Linked DNA regions of Homo sapiens: regions 1, 2, 3 and 5 are each linked to region 4. Evidence: promoter capture Hi-C in 16 types of primary human blood cells and fetal thymus (Javierre and others, 2016). All regions are on one chromosome and are shown on one strand. The core of a region is centred on a gene start or on the middle of the fragment in contact, and the rest is flanking DNA. Distances in the headings are between cores, read along the strand shown. Region 1 overlaps KCNT2 (potassium sodium-activated channel subfamily T member 2). Region 2 overlaps KCNT2 (potassium sodium-activated channel subfamily T member 2). Region 3 has its middle 68 kb from the start of LINC01724. Region 4 holds the start of KCNT2 (potassium sodium-activated channel subfamily T member 2). Region 5 has its middle 44 kb from the start of LINC01724.

Region 1 (2,700 bases), core at 192-2,691, 270 kb after region 4:
TGGCTGATCTCTCTCTCTCTGTGTCTCTGTCTCTCTCTCTCTCTCTCTCTCTCTCTCTCTCTGTGTGTGTGTGTGTCTCTTCATATCTCTGTGTGCACCATACACTTGTAATTTTGAACCTTCCATGATAACAACTTCAGAGACAAATTTCTCCAAAGTGTTGTGTTTAGTGGCAGGCTTTAAATTTTATTGTTGTCCTATGTCCATGATTCTACCCAGTTCAATCTGACACCTGCAGTCATATCACTGAAACTATTCAGGCAAGGTCACCATGTTCCTCTTTGTCACTACATCTAAAATGATTGTCTTCACAGTATATGACAAGAATATTGACCATGTTCTTCCTGAAACACTCTAATGCCTTTTTTTCTGCTTTGTGCACATTCATTTTCATTGTGTGGTCACTTCTGTTCTCATGGATTCTATTGTCCGTAAACTGATTATTCCTCTGTCTAAAGCATTAACTCAACATCTCTTTACAGCAACGCGAACTGTCTACTAGTTATTTCTGTTTGAGTATTTTGTGGGAAAAACTGGCACAGCATATTCAAATTAAACTGATCCTTACACTCTCATTCAGTCATTCAACACCGTTTTTCTCCTTCTCCTTTTTTTTTTTTTTTTTTTTTTTTTTGCTAAAAAGCAGATGACACCATTATCCTTTGATCTGTAAGGCCACCATTCTGACTTTTCACCACCCGCTCTTCTCATACCTCATCATTAACCAAATTCTATTAAATCTGGTCAGTAAATAGCCCCTAGAATCATTCAGTTTTTTTCCATGTCCACCACCAACATCATCGTGGTCTGTGCCTCCATCCTTCTCTCCCTGAACTGCAGGATCAACAACCTTGTCTTTTTTCCATGCCTCCAGCCTTGCCACTCTACACTTAATTCTCCATCCTGCCACCAGAGTAAAAATTTTTAAATATAATTTTGATAGCATCATTTCCTGAACAAATCACCTGCTTTATACTACCCATTGGAAAAAAAAGTCTAAATTCTGTAGTGTGACTTAACTTATAAATAGGATAACCAAAAGTTCTTGTTTGCATTAGGCAATCCTAGTTTTCTTAGGAATGTTCCAGTTTCTTAGGATTGTTCAGTTTATATAATTGTCCTGATGTAATTATTAAAAGAACCCCCTTTTACTCTGCAGTATCCTAGTTTAGAAAATAAATTACTTCATCATTTTCTTTATAGGCTTTTTATTAGTGATATTTTCTGACTTTTCTAGCTCCACATTTTACCACCTCTTTGCTGCTCTCCTGAGCTCCAAACATACTCACTTTCTTTCAATCTTCACTAATATATTTTTTTCACCAATGGGCCTTAAAACATTAAGTTTCCTCTGATGGAACTATTCCTCACACCCCAACATTCCCTAAGTAATGACTTCTAATTCTTTATATCTTAGTCAAAATATCACTCCCTCCAAACACTATTCCATGGTTTTACCTAGACCTTCTTAGGTAATCCTATTTGTCATTTACTTATTTTTATTCTACAGTAGCAATATTCATTTTTAATGTCTTCAAAAAGTACTTATTGTGTGCCTAATATGTACCCAAAATAGTATTTATTGAGTACCTAATATGTACCAAGAACTCTCGTGTAAGTGTTTGTGATAAAACGTTAGTGAAGAAACAAAGATCCCTAGTTCATAGAGCTTGCATTCTATTATGGAGAAGACAGGCGATAACCAAAGTACATATAAAAAAATAAGTAAATTACTTAATATGCTAGTGGGTTATAAGTTATAAAGGAAAAACTAAAAGAAGAAAACAGAGCTAGTATAGGAGATAATTAATTTTTGGGAGGAGCAGATTTTAAATGAAGTGCTTAGTAGGCCAGAAAGTGATGTTTGAGCAGATACCTGAAAGAAATGAGGAATTAGTCCTGTGGAGGTCTGGAGAAAGAGATAACAGCTGGTACAAAGGCCCTAAAGTGGGAGCCTGGCTGGGGTTCTCCAGGAACAGTAACAGGGCCCTTTGTGCCTCAAACACAGTGAATGCTGGAAGAATAGTAGGAGATGAGGACGAACAGGTAGAAAGAGGCCAGATCCTGTTGGGCTTATTTAAGTCCATATGGGATTGCAGCTTCTACTCTCAGTGAAGTGGGAATTATTGCAAGGCTTTATGCAGAGCCATTGACCTGATCTCACCTATGCTGAGTGCTCAACTCAGGCTGCTGTTGAACATAGATGGTTTGGAGCAAGGATCAGACTATTTTCAAGTGGAAGTGGTAAGAAGGAGAAAATTCTGCATGTACTTTGAGGATAATCAGGATTCCTTACAAAATGAAATTGAACTGTGAGAAAAAGAGAAGTGTGAAGAAACATAAGGTTTTCGGATTAAGCAACTAGGGAAAGAGAATGGCCATAAATTTAGAGGAAAGGCTAGGGGGAATGCAGGTTTTGCGGGGGTGAAGGGAAGATAAAGAGTATTTTGGAACACCTTGAAGATGTCTAACAGGAAGTTGTATGTAAGAGTCTAGATTTCAGGAGAGAGAGAGAGATAGGCTGAAAAAGTAAATTTTGTATTTCTGATCTTATGTATATATTTAAAGCCATAAGACCAAATGAAGTCTTTGAGGAAATGAGTACAGGCAGGAAAAAATAAAAGACAAAGCTCTGCAGTATACTAAGATTAAGTATCAGGGGGATGAGAAGAAACCAGCAAAGGAGACCAAAGAGGAGCT
Region 2 (2,700 bases), core at 107-2,606, 290 kb after region 4:
TGTGGAGTGACTTTTGCTGCTAATATGGTGGTTGTGGATAAAGAGAGCACCATGAGTGCCGAGGAAGACTACATGGCAGATGCCAAAACCATTGTGAACGTGCAGACACTCTTCAGGTAAGTGGCTGAATCATCCAACCTTGCCACTTACTTTGTGCTAAACATTGGTAAAATATTTGACACTGACTCTGTGAGGAATGAACATGAGACACACCAACTTTATGTTCATTTATTCATTTTTTTCATAAAGTAAATGTTTATTGAGCATGACTGGCACTGCATAAAGTTAAATTTTTAACACCAGATCAGTAATGCTTCTCATAAAACAAATTGAATGATATATCTATTTTCTCAGATAGTTTAACAGTAGCAAATTCTTGAAAATCATGTGTACTAGTAGTCATGAGTTTTGACAAGCAGCCCATGTTCTCGTATTGGTATTAAGCCTAGCAGTGACCAAATATTTGCATTTACATACTGAATAGCTAGGACTGAAAGACTGCACAGCTGTGAACAGGTAAGTTACCCATGTTAGGAGCAAAGTCATGACATCATTTTCACTGTTTTCCTGTCTTTTATTAATTAAATGTACCCATTGAATTTAATTAATTGAATTTAATTTAATGGGGATATGAATCCCCATTATGGTTGTCTTTGGGTAAGAGTAAACAATCCTGACTAGAGAAAGAGCCATGCTATAAGTAAAGTCAAACTCGTCTGTCATTCAAGGCATCTGTTTCACTTGGAACAATTCTCCCTAAAATCATATGAAATTTTAAATATCCAAAAGACCATTTTTTAAGTTGTATGAGTTTTGCAGAAGCCTGAAGAAAATACGTGAGCTACCAAATTACAGAGGTAAATGAAACAATCTCAACTTTCTCATCATCCATGTTCACTCCACTTTCATACTTTCATATTGTAGTAAAGCATATATTGAGGTTAATTATTTTGCCTTCTAATTTGAGTTCAAAATTCAAAGGAGAGAGCCTAGATGCGTGTCTGTGTTAAGTTGCCTATTTTTAGTATGATCTTAGGCAAATTACTTTTCTTCTCTACATCTCAATATATTAATCACAATATTATTAAAGATTTAGAAACATGCAATGCCTTACTTAGCACATACCTGGTCATTTTTAATTACTTAATAAATATTAGCTATTAATATTACTAGCAGTATAATTATCACTTCCATGTGGCAGAAGGGAAAAGCCACTGACCTTGGACTATACAGCAGCAAACTTTATCTGGCACAATGTATATCCTAGAGGCTCCAGCTGACAGTCACTAACTTTGTGACCTTCCTAACCTCATTAAGATTCAGTTTTTCTCATCTATAAAATGCTGCAGAAAATAACCGACCTTGCAGTGTTAATGTAAAGATTAGAGATCAGTTATTTAAAGAATCTGTCATAGCACCTGGAAAATCTACACTGAATTTGCATAAGAACCTCTTGTTCCAGAAGAAGAAATACACACTTTAAAGTTATTATAATGCAGCAGTTCACTTAGAATATAGCTAACTAGTTAACTAGTGAGCTGTATTAAACAGTACATTTTTAAAAGACACTATATAGAACTTGTTTAAAATATTACAGATATATAAATTTTTTTTCTCTAGAGAATATAAAAGAAAATTACAGGGTAGAAAATTAATTCAAGGATGAGATTTATAGCTAGTGAGTAGGGTAAAAATCATGCTTTTTGATTCCATGCTTGGCAAAAGCTAATTATATAAAAGAGGATCCTAGGTCTTTTTAATTAAACATGTTATTTAAACTTTCAATTTACCATGAATTTTATTTCTATTATGGTGACATTTCTATTGATTTAACTTTTATTATATATTCTCTGGATGAATTATTTTGATTCCAAGGAAATAATAAATCCCCATCTTACTGAGAGGTTCAAAGGCTGTAATTAGTAATTTAAAACAAATTAACTCACCATAGTAATCATGGACAGATACATATATGGCAACTAATTGTGCAAAGGCTATGTTACTCTGAGTACCTAGCTGAAGATGTGATTACCACTTGTTGAATGAATGAATGGATGGATGAATGAATGAATTAATAACTTTGGATACCTTAACTATTAGGCTTATCTGTCTTCAGCAGTATATTTTAAAAATTATATAGTTTTTATGGTATATATATAGTAATCTAGACTGAATAGTTTTGAGCAGAATTTTTCAAAAGAACTATTAAAAACCCAAATTGCAAAGAAATTACCTCTGTTCTTTCCTTTCTTATGCCCTATCATGACATTACTATTATTTCTCTAAGTATATAACAGTATTTTTTAGGAAAAAATTATATGAAACTTTTTTTTTGTGTTGTGTGTTAAGCTGCTAATCTGTGTATGCTAAGCTAGGCTAGTTTTACATGATAAAAAGTAAGACAGACATTTATAGGTTTCTATGATATAAGAAGAATCACTTTTGCTCATAAATGACCAAAATCACACAGACTTGGGAGTTGCATTTTACAGATGTGGTTAATTATCATCCTCCAGATCACTCTTCTGCATTCCTTGGAGATTTTAGTTCCTGATTTACTATGACTCTTGCCAACCCTGATTATCATAATTATTGATGATTTCAACAATCTTACCTAGATGATCCTTTGAATATCTGACCTTCACCACCCATTCTCATGGTCATAGCCTAAACCTTGAACTATGAATAATTTTACACTCC
Region 3 (2,700 bases), core at 148-2,647, 450 kb after region 4:
CTGGCCAAAAAGTGGGAAATTTTTAAAACGAAATTATTAGAGGCCATTGTTTTGGACTGAGCTCACGCACTAGGCCCCAACAAACCAAACCAAACAAAACAAAAATGGAGTTGTTCAGGCTAAATGTGACATAATCAAACTAAGACTTCATTTATTTTATTTTATTTTATTTATTTATTTATTTTTATTATTATACTTTAAGTTTTAGGGTACTTGTGCACAATGCGCAGGTTAGTTACATATGTATACATGTGCCATGCTGGCGTGCTGCACCCATTAACTCGTCATTTAGCATTAGGTATATCTCCTAATGCTATCCCTCCCCACTCCCCCCATCCCAAAACAGTCCCCAGAGTGTGATATTCCCCTTCCTGTGTCCATGTGTTCTCATTGTTCACTTCCCATCTATGAGTGAGAACATGCGGTGTTTGGTTTTTTGTCCTTGCGATAGTTTACTGAGAATGATGATTTCCAATTTCATATATGTCCCTACAAAGGACATGAACTCATCCTTTTTTATGGCTGCATAGTATTCCATGGTGTATATGTTCCACATTTTCTTAATCCAGTCTATCATTGTTGGACATTTGGGTTGGTTCCAAGTCTTTGCTATTGTGGATAATGCCACAATAAACATACGTGTGCATGTGTCTTTATAGCAGCATGATTTATAGTCCTTTGGGTATATACCCAGTAATGGGATGACTGGGTCAAATGGTATTTCTAGTTCTAGATCCCTGAGGAATCGCCGCACTGACTTCCACAATGGTTGAACTAGTTTACAGTCCCACCAACAGTGTAAAAGTGTTCCTATTTCTCCACATCCTCTCTAGCACCTGTTGTTTCCTGACTTTTTAATGATTGCCATTCTAATTGGTGTGAGATGGTATCTCATTGTGGTTTTGATTTGCATTTCTCTGATGGCCAGTGATGATGAGCATTTTTATGTGTCTTTTGGCTGCATAAATGTCTTCTTTTGAGAAGTGTCTGTTCATATCCTTTGCCCACTTTTTGATGGGGTTGTTTGTTTTTTTCTTGTAAATTTGTTTGAGTTCATTGTAGATTCTGGATATTGGCCCTTTGTCAGATGAGTAGGTGTTTCTTTAAAGTCTTAGTTTGAAATTTTCACAATCAAACTAAGACTTTAAAGAAACACGTAGATTTTAGATTAGAACAGACTTGGTTTTGTTTTCTCCTGTAAACAGAACATTCCAGCACAAGGAGGTACCCTCTACTTATTCCTTGTTTCTACCTTTGCAGTACCCACTGTTTTGTTTTTCAGTGGGTTTCAAGACCAAATATGTACATTTACAAAGGTGATAGTGACATCAATGTCCAAAGTTTTGGTCAATCTCTCAAAATTAAGAAAATGACCAAAAGTGGGGAAATGTTAACAAAAACTAAATATGGCCGTACTTCTATATTTGAGTTCTTGTGGATGAACTGAAACCTAACTTAATAGGTAGACAAGATTGAAAACCTAACTTAGAAGTATGTGCCTGCAACAATTGCTGAGTCTTGGCCAATCTCAGCAACCATACTTCAACCAGTCATACACTGCTGAGTGTTCAAACTATGTTCAAATAAGGCAAACTCCGAGCTGTTATCAATCCAACTGTTTCTGTACCTCACTTCCAGTTTCTGTATGTCACTTTACTTTTTCAGTCTATAAATTTGTTCTGACCACGAGGCACCCCTGGAGTCTCTCTGAATCTGCTGTGATTATGGGGCTGCTGGATTCATGAATTGTTCATTGCTCAGTTAAACTCCTTTAAATTTAATTCAGCTGAAGTTTTCCTTTTAACAATCACAAAGAGGAAATGTTAAAAAAAAAGAAACTGAGCATGTTTCATCAGTAAGGCTTATTTTCAACAGTGTTTTCATTTGAATAAGGTAAATGCACACAACATATCTAAATAAGCTGTGCTGTTATCAATTAATCATACACATGCTTCTAGAAATTTTAGAATATAAATAAAACTATAGGAGAGCATTATAATTCACAATACCAGTACCCAAACATTTGTTATTAATACATTTGTGTTTTTCTTTTTAGGGCTATCTCAATGTAGTATGTATTTTAAATATTACACTACACTGCATAAGCACTTTTGTGTCTTAGTTTTTAAACTTAGTATTATACTGCGATAGCTACCAAAGCTGTTAAGAATTTTTCAAAACATAATTTCCAGAGCTGCATAATATCTCATTATTTATATACATCAAAATGTAACTATTTTCATATGATCAGTTTTTAAGTTATTGCCTCTGAACTCTAAACCCACCTTCCTATATTCCTCATGATTTCTAAGATACTATATAATGTACCATGAAGTGGAATATAGGAGGAATATTTAGATCCTCTGTTTTATATGACACTATAATTAAAATTTTGATTTGTACTTTTAGGATCTACATGTTTGTATCTATGATTATAGTTAAAGATTTATTGTAGTTACATGTTAGAACACCTACTCCTTACTCCTGATTCTTCCCAACTGGTAGACAGTTATTAGAGCAATATTCTTGGCCTCTCAGAATGAAACATTTAGGAGCAGGAACTAAGAAGATGTTTAAATCTCAGCCCTGCCCTTCTCCTCTTCATTTGAGACCTGTAATCCTGTAGAGAACATGTGCCCCAGTGTACTTTTGTGCCTTAAGTTTATCAATGAAAGCTCTGTCTTAGTAGGAAGGCCTGCA
Region 4 (2,738 bases), core at 28-2,527:
TCACAGGTATTTCCAAATCCCTCTGTATGTTCTTTGATTATTGTCTCTCACATCGTATCCATTTATCAAGGAACAAGCTTGTTCCTCCACACAGAGCGGTTCTTAAGTAAGGGCAGGAGAAGCCATATGGTTATCCTCCGGCCCAGGCTGTCAGGTGGTTGGTATTCGGTCTGTATATACTCTGATGCAATCAGTTTTTGAAGGAAAGAACGGTAAGCGCAAATAGAACCATAGCTTGTGTAGCAGGGTTCATGTAAGCAGTGGTTCTTACTGAAAAACAGACCCTGTTCTCTCGGGCTCACTTCTTCCTCCGTGTGAACCACTAATAGGAGGGGACCGAAGGCTGAGGCCAGGCCACCTGGAAGCCCACAACGCTGCTAGTAGCAGCGACAGCAGTAACAGCAACTCACCACTGTAAAATCCTCAGTGCGTTTCCATGTGCTTTCCCTGTCATCTAAATGCTTCTCTTCAGCGGCCTAAGGTGGCCCTTCTTTTTCCCCGAGTTCAGGGAAACACCTCCCTTCTTTCAGAATGTGAGAAAAAAATGGGATTTTCCTGGGGCTGAGAGTGGGGATTCCCTTTCCAGAAACGTGCAATTTTTTCATCCCGCCCACCTGGACTGAAGGCAATCAAAGCGAGGGAGCTCGTGGCATAGTGGAACACTCCAAGCACCCTGGCCCCCCTCCTCCCAGAGAAGGGTCTGGAGCCCCGCAATCCGCTAATTAGCTCGCCCCCATTGGTTGTCCCCAAGGCACCCCCGTGCCGTCACTGTGCTATGCTAATGAGGGGGAGTCTCATTGGCTGGGCCTCCAGCTCCATCTCCACAGGGAGATTGCGGGGAGAGCCGGGTTGGCCGCGTCTGGGGCCGAAACCCACCGCCCCCGATTCCCGCCAGCTCAGGGCTGTGCCGGATGCAAGCCCGCCCGAGGGAACAGTAGCCGGGAGGCTGCCCTCTGGGAGGATCTGGCAACTGCCTTTAAGGAAAGTGCTTCACCATCAAGCGGCGCTCACTCCCACCCCTCTCCCCTCTTTCTAGGCACCGCGCGTCTTTTTCGGCGAAGTAACTTTTTATACCCGCCTCCCCCTAGTCCTGGGGACCAGAGGCGGTGCCGAGCCTGGGGGCGGTTCCTTGGCAGCGTTGATTCTTGTCAGAGCCAGACTTTTGCTCCTGGGTTGGGTTTGCATCATCCCCATTACACCCTCGGGAAAGAGGAGCCAGCCCCCTTTCAAGCCTTAGCTTCCGGCTCCAAGCGGACCCCCTCCCCCTCCCTGTCCCCTTCCCCTTCTCCCATCCCTCTCTCGGCCACAGCGTCTTGTTAGTCCTCTCCCTGTACTCCGCAATATTTTCTTTCTTTCTCCCTCCTCTCCTCCATTTGTTGTTTGATGTTTCCCACTCTTTGAGGAAGGATGGTTGATTTGGAGAGCGAAGTGCCCCCTCTGCCTCCCAGGTACAGGTTTCGAGATTTGCTGCTAGGGGACCAAGGATGGCAAAACGACGACAGGTGAGTGGTGTGGTGGAGGATTGTTCTGTAAATATTGCTGAAAAAGAGACGGAAATGGGAGGGCCGAAGTGGGGAAAGGAGGGAGAAAAGGAAAACGGAGCCAGAGAGGGAGACTAGGCTGGGGGAGGGAGTAAAAGAGACTCTGATTTGTCTCTCCATTTTGACTCTATATAACTGTTGCTATAGATAAGGAACTCTTTTTCTTTACACTTTTCTTATTCTTGCAAGGTATTTATTGCATTCATTTGGTGCTTATTCTTTTGTCTATCTGTGCTTTTCTAGGATGTGTATAAGGCTGGTATCAGAGGTACAATACACCCAAATGGTATGCAATATCATTTCCAGAAAATTTGCATTTTTTCCTTAGGTGTGGTTAATCAAACTCAAAATTGCATGCAAGTTGTTTGAAAAAGCACATTAGAAACTTAAAATCTCCTGAGTCTATTTACCTCCTCCTTGTCTGTGTTGTCTTGAGTAGGTATCTACTTGGCACTGGAAATTTTATGCTGTTTAAACATTTTGGAGTTTTAAGTAGACAATTGGTTTAAATATGTAACAGGTAGTTAGTGAAAATGACAACCTTTTTAATACAATATACTCACTTTGAACAGGTGACTCTGACCATTATGAATAATGATGTTTGTATAACATGATACAACCTTTTCATAACTAGTATATTTTTTTAACTGAAACAGAATATATGTCTCAAAATTAAAATTAAGTTTCAAAACTAGAATATTTATTGTTAGCAAAATATTGTTCATGTGTTTTATTTATAGCATTACTGCTTTGCACAAACTTCTGAAATTCCTCTGTCTATTTCTGTCTCAAGCACATTTTGTATTTCAGCGAATTTAGTATTTTCTGGAATAGTCATCCCATATATCACATGCCACATTTCTTTGTTTTAAAATAATACATGTATACTAACTAGGTTCTCAACTCAATTGAAATGTTTCATTGAAGTTTAGTTTAGTATTGATGTGCTATTTTAGTTATATAAAAGATCCATTATTGGTCCAATCCAAAATCCCCTCCTCATTCACCACTGACCAATACACTCTATTTCTTTTCTTCACCTTTTCAGCTCCCAATACCAACTCCTGTCTCTACACACTGAGGATTTTATCTTGAGCATCAATTATGGGCATCTTGTTTGGTCTCATATTAGTAATTTGAAAGGAGATGGATGTTTTGTAGAGGATATTTTGGTTCAATCTCTTTTTTAGGCAAAAC
Region 5 (2,700 bases), core at 78-2,577, 480 kb after region 4:
CACTAGTAAAATTATTGAAGGCCCTTCAAAGTTATGTGTTTTTGAATGATCTCAATTAGTGTATTAGAAATTAAAAATGAAAAATATAAAATATTATTAAATAACTTATTTAAAAGTAACCATAATACACTCATTACATTTTAACATGAGTAACATATTTATATGACAAATAACTATATTTTTCAAAAACCATAAGATGAAGAGTGGCACTGTTTTACAATTTTGTAAATTTCTTAAAGATTGGCTTAATAGGAGACAGCTACAATTTCATATTTTCTTCTTCTTTTACTCTGTTGCAATAAAGGCATCATGTACCTTCTGGGAAATTACGCTGTACACTTGTGAAGAACGAGAGTGAAAAAAGCAAATATTGTTTTACTATTATTTTGAAAATGTTTTTGACCTCATAGACCCTCTGCAAAGGACTTCCAGGGATCCCAAAGAACACTTTGAGAATCACAAGGCTAAGGGAATCACATGGTTGGGATGGATGCTTGTAGGTGCTGTTGCTGCCGTTGCTGGATAGGATGTTACCAAAAATAAATATAATTTTCTTTAGTATTTTGGCTAGGGCTTGCTCTGTGTTCATGATACCAATATTAGAAATGCGACATTTATTTATTAGATGCTTTCCCATATTTTGTCTAATTTACTTCCTGTAAACACCGAATTGTCCTTTATCCTGACAGAAATTGTTGAAACCCACTTTGATACAGAAGGAATATGAAGTTCAACGTGGCAAGTAACTTGTCTTGACATGCACAACCAAATAATAGCAGAGATTGTCTCCCATGGCTATGTTCTTTCCAGAACATCTATGCTTTCCCCTTAAGCAATAATTTCTCAATACAGCAATAATTAGGACTTATGGGAAAATGAAGATTACTTGTAAATATAGTACAAAGAAAGGACTTAAATAAAGCCTTATGTGGGGAACTTGAAAACGGACAGAAGCCATAGGTCAAATGTGAGGAAAACAGATTTTTATTGTATTAGCATAACAGTAACTACAACAAAAATGATGACATCTACTGAATAAAATTAAAGCTTACATGGAGAGCATCTTTTGGGATGGGTGGTTCACTTAAGCACCCCTGACAGGCATTCTATGGAGAAAAAATCAGTTGTATTTTGGAGGAATTGAGGGAAAGGAAAAACTCAGGGGTAGTTAGCCTGAAGCACCTATACTGGAAGACATGAGAGTCATACAGACAATTTGGGGAGCCATGATTGGAGATGTAACAAGGACTTCAGAGTCAGCTCTTTGGCTTATCATCTACACAATTTATATAAATTCCATTTCAGTAAACCTATATATCCACAGAAAGAGTTTTTATAAAGTTTTTTAAATGTGGAATATAAGATTTCAAGTGTGTAGCTTATCTCATTTCATTATTCTTGCTGCCAGATTCACTTTATTTCTGCATAAAATGGTGACACCTTGGGTTATTGGGTTGGTTTTTCCTTTGTAAATAACTCCAGCACTTTCCTCTGATAGGCAATTCAGATTATTACTTATGAGAGCCATCAAGCTGCAGATACATTTAGCTGCATCAAAAATAAAATACCCATTGCCTTACAATTCATGATATGTCCAGAAAGCTTAAATATTTTAGTATGTGTAATATATTTTGTCACTGTAAGTCACTTTCACAACTGACTGTGCAAAAAGTTATCAGATGGTTGCCAATATTTTCTCAATTTTGAATCTACCTGCATGTCATTTGCTAAACAGTTTCCAAGACTAAATCATATAAAGAATTGCTATAATGTTTATAAGAATGGAGGTGCATCCAATGTTATCTACAGCTAAAATGAAACATGTCCATAGTACTGGGGCTTTTGTCATCATCTTATAACCACATCTGGCATGAAGATATAACCATGTCACACTTATCTGTCATTATAATGAAATTCATTTAATTTTCTTTCTTGACAATCAAATGATGGCATAATAAAAGGCAGAGGAAAGTTATGTTAATGTTTATGTGAGAGTGAGACAGATAACCCACCCTCATGTCAATGATGTCTGCTGGGGATAGTTTCAGCTTCTACATAGAGGTAAGGAATGTATTATTTATAATCCAAGATAATAATCCATTTAATTACTGTGTGCGTTAGTTTCCTCCTGGTGCTGCAACAAATTGCCACAAGTTTTGTGGCTTCAAACAACATCAACTTGTTATCTTACAGTTCTGAAAGCCAGAAATTTGAAATGCGTCTGAAGAGGTTAAAAATCAACATGTCAACAAAGCTATGTCCCTTCTCAAGGCTCCAAAGGAGAATCTTTTTCTTTGACTTTCCTAGTTTCGTGAAGCCCCACACATCTCTTGGCTCATGGTCTTTTCCTCCAGAGGAAATCACTCCAACTTCTGCTTCCATTCTCCCATCTCATTTTGTATCCCTCCTATAAAGCTTATGGTTACATTGAACCCACCCATACAATCCAAGATAATCTCACTATCTCAAGAACCCTATTTTAATTAAATCTGTAAAGTCCCTTTTGCCATGGAAGGTAACATAATCACTGGTTCTGGGAATTAGGACTTAGGTGTCTCTGGAGGTCATTATTTTGTTTATCAGACAAAGACACTTGATTACTGATTCGCTCATGTACCTGCCCAAATTGCAAATGCTTACCAAGTAATTGCAAATTATCCTACAAGATAATTTGCCAGGTAAAAAGCAGAGATTCTGCCA

The links. The method cuts DNA at HindIII sites, captures the fragments that hold promoters and counts their contacts. A CHiCAGO score of 5 or more calls a contact.
Region 1: a fragment that was not itself captured here is called in contact with the fragment with the promoter of KCNT2 in region 4 in 1 of 17 cell types (megakaryocytes); the score reaches 5.0 in megakaryocytes.
Region 2: a contact is called between a fragment that was not itself captured here and the fragment with the promoter of KCNT2 in region 4, in 1 of 17 cell types (megakaryocytes). The highest score is 5.2, in megakaryocytes.
Region 3: a fragment that was not itself captured here is called in contact with the fragment with the promoter of KCNT2 in region 4 in 2 of 17 cell types (fetal thymus and erythroblasts); the score reaches 5.6 in fetal thymus.
Region 5: a fragment that was not itself captured here is called in contact with the fragment with the promoter of KCNT2 in region 4 in 1 of 17 cell types (M1 macrophages); the score reaches 5.4 in M1 macrophages.

Annotation. Positions count from the first base shown.
Region 1 is chr1:196,336,883-196,339,582 of GRCh38, reverse strand. The region is part of intron 16 of KCNT2 (potassium sodium-activated channel subfamily T member 2); the gene reads left to right. Among named protein-coding and RNA genes, the nearest start is that of MIR4735, 240 kb to the left of the region's middle. The HindIII fragment of the contact is 4,991 bases long and covers 1-2,700 here.
Region 2 is chr1:196,313,308-196,316,007 of GRCh38, reverse strand. It overlaps KCNT2 (potassium sodium-activated channel subfamily T member 2), which reads left to right. Exons shown (of 28, transcript NM_198503.5): 21 at 1-116. Among named protein-coding and RNA genes, the nearest start is that of LINC01724, 230 kb to the right of the region's middle. The HindIII fragment of the contact is 3,629 bases long and covers 1-2,700 here.
Region 3 is chr1:196,155,779-196,158,478 of GRCh38, reverse strand. No RefSeq gene overlaps it. Among named protein-coding and RNA genes, the nearest start is that of LINC01724, 68 kb to the right of the region's middle. The HindIII fragment of the contact is 4,007 bases long and covers 1-2,700 here.
Region 4 is chr1:196,606,979-196,609,716 of GRCh38, reverse strand. It overlaps KCNT2 (potassium sodium-activated channel subfamily T member 2), which reads left to right and starts at 1,277. Exons shown (of 28, transcript NM_198503.5): 1 at 1,277-1,502. The coding sequence starts at 1,408. RefSeq lists an enhancer at 426-942. The HindIII fragment of the contact is 4,315 bases long and covers 80-2,738 here.
Region 5 is chr1:196,131,117-196,133,816 of GRCh38, reverse strand. No RefSeq gene overlaps it. Among named protein-coding and RNA genes, the nearest start is that of LINC01724, 44 kb to the right of the region's middle. The HindIII fragment of the contact is 555 bases long and covers 1,050-1,604 here.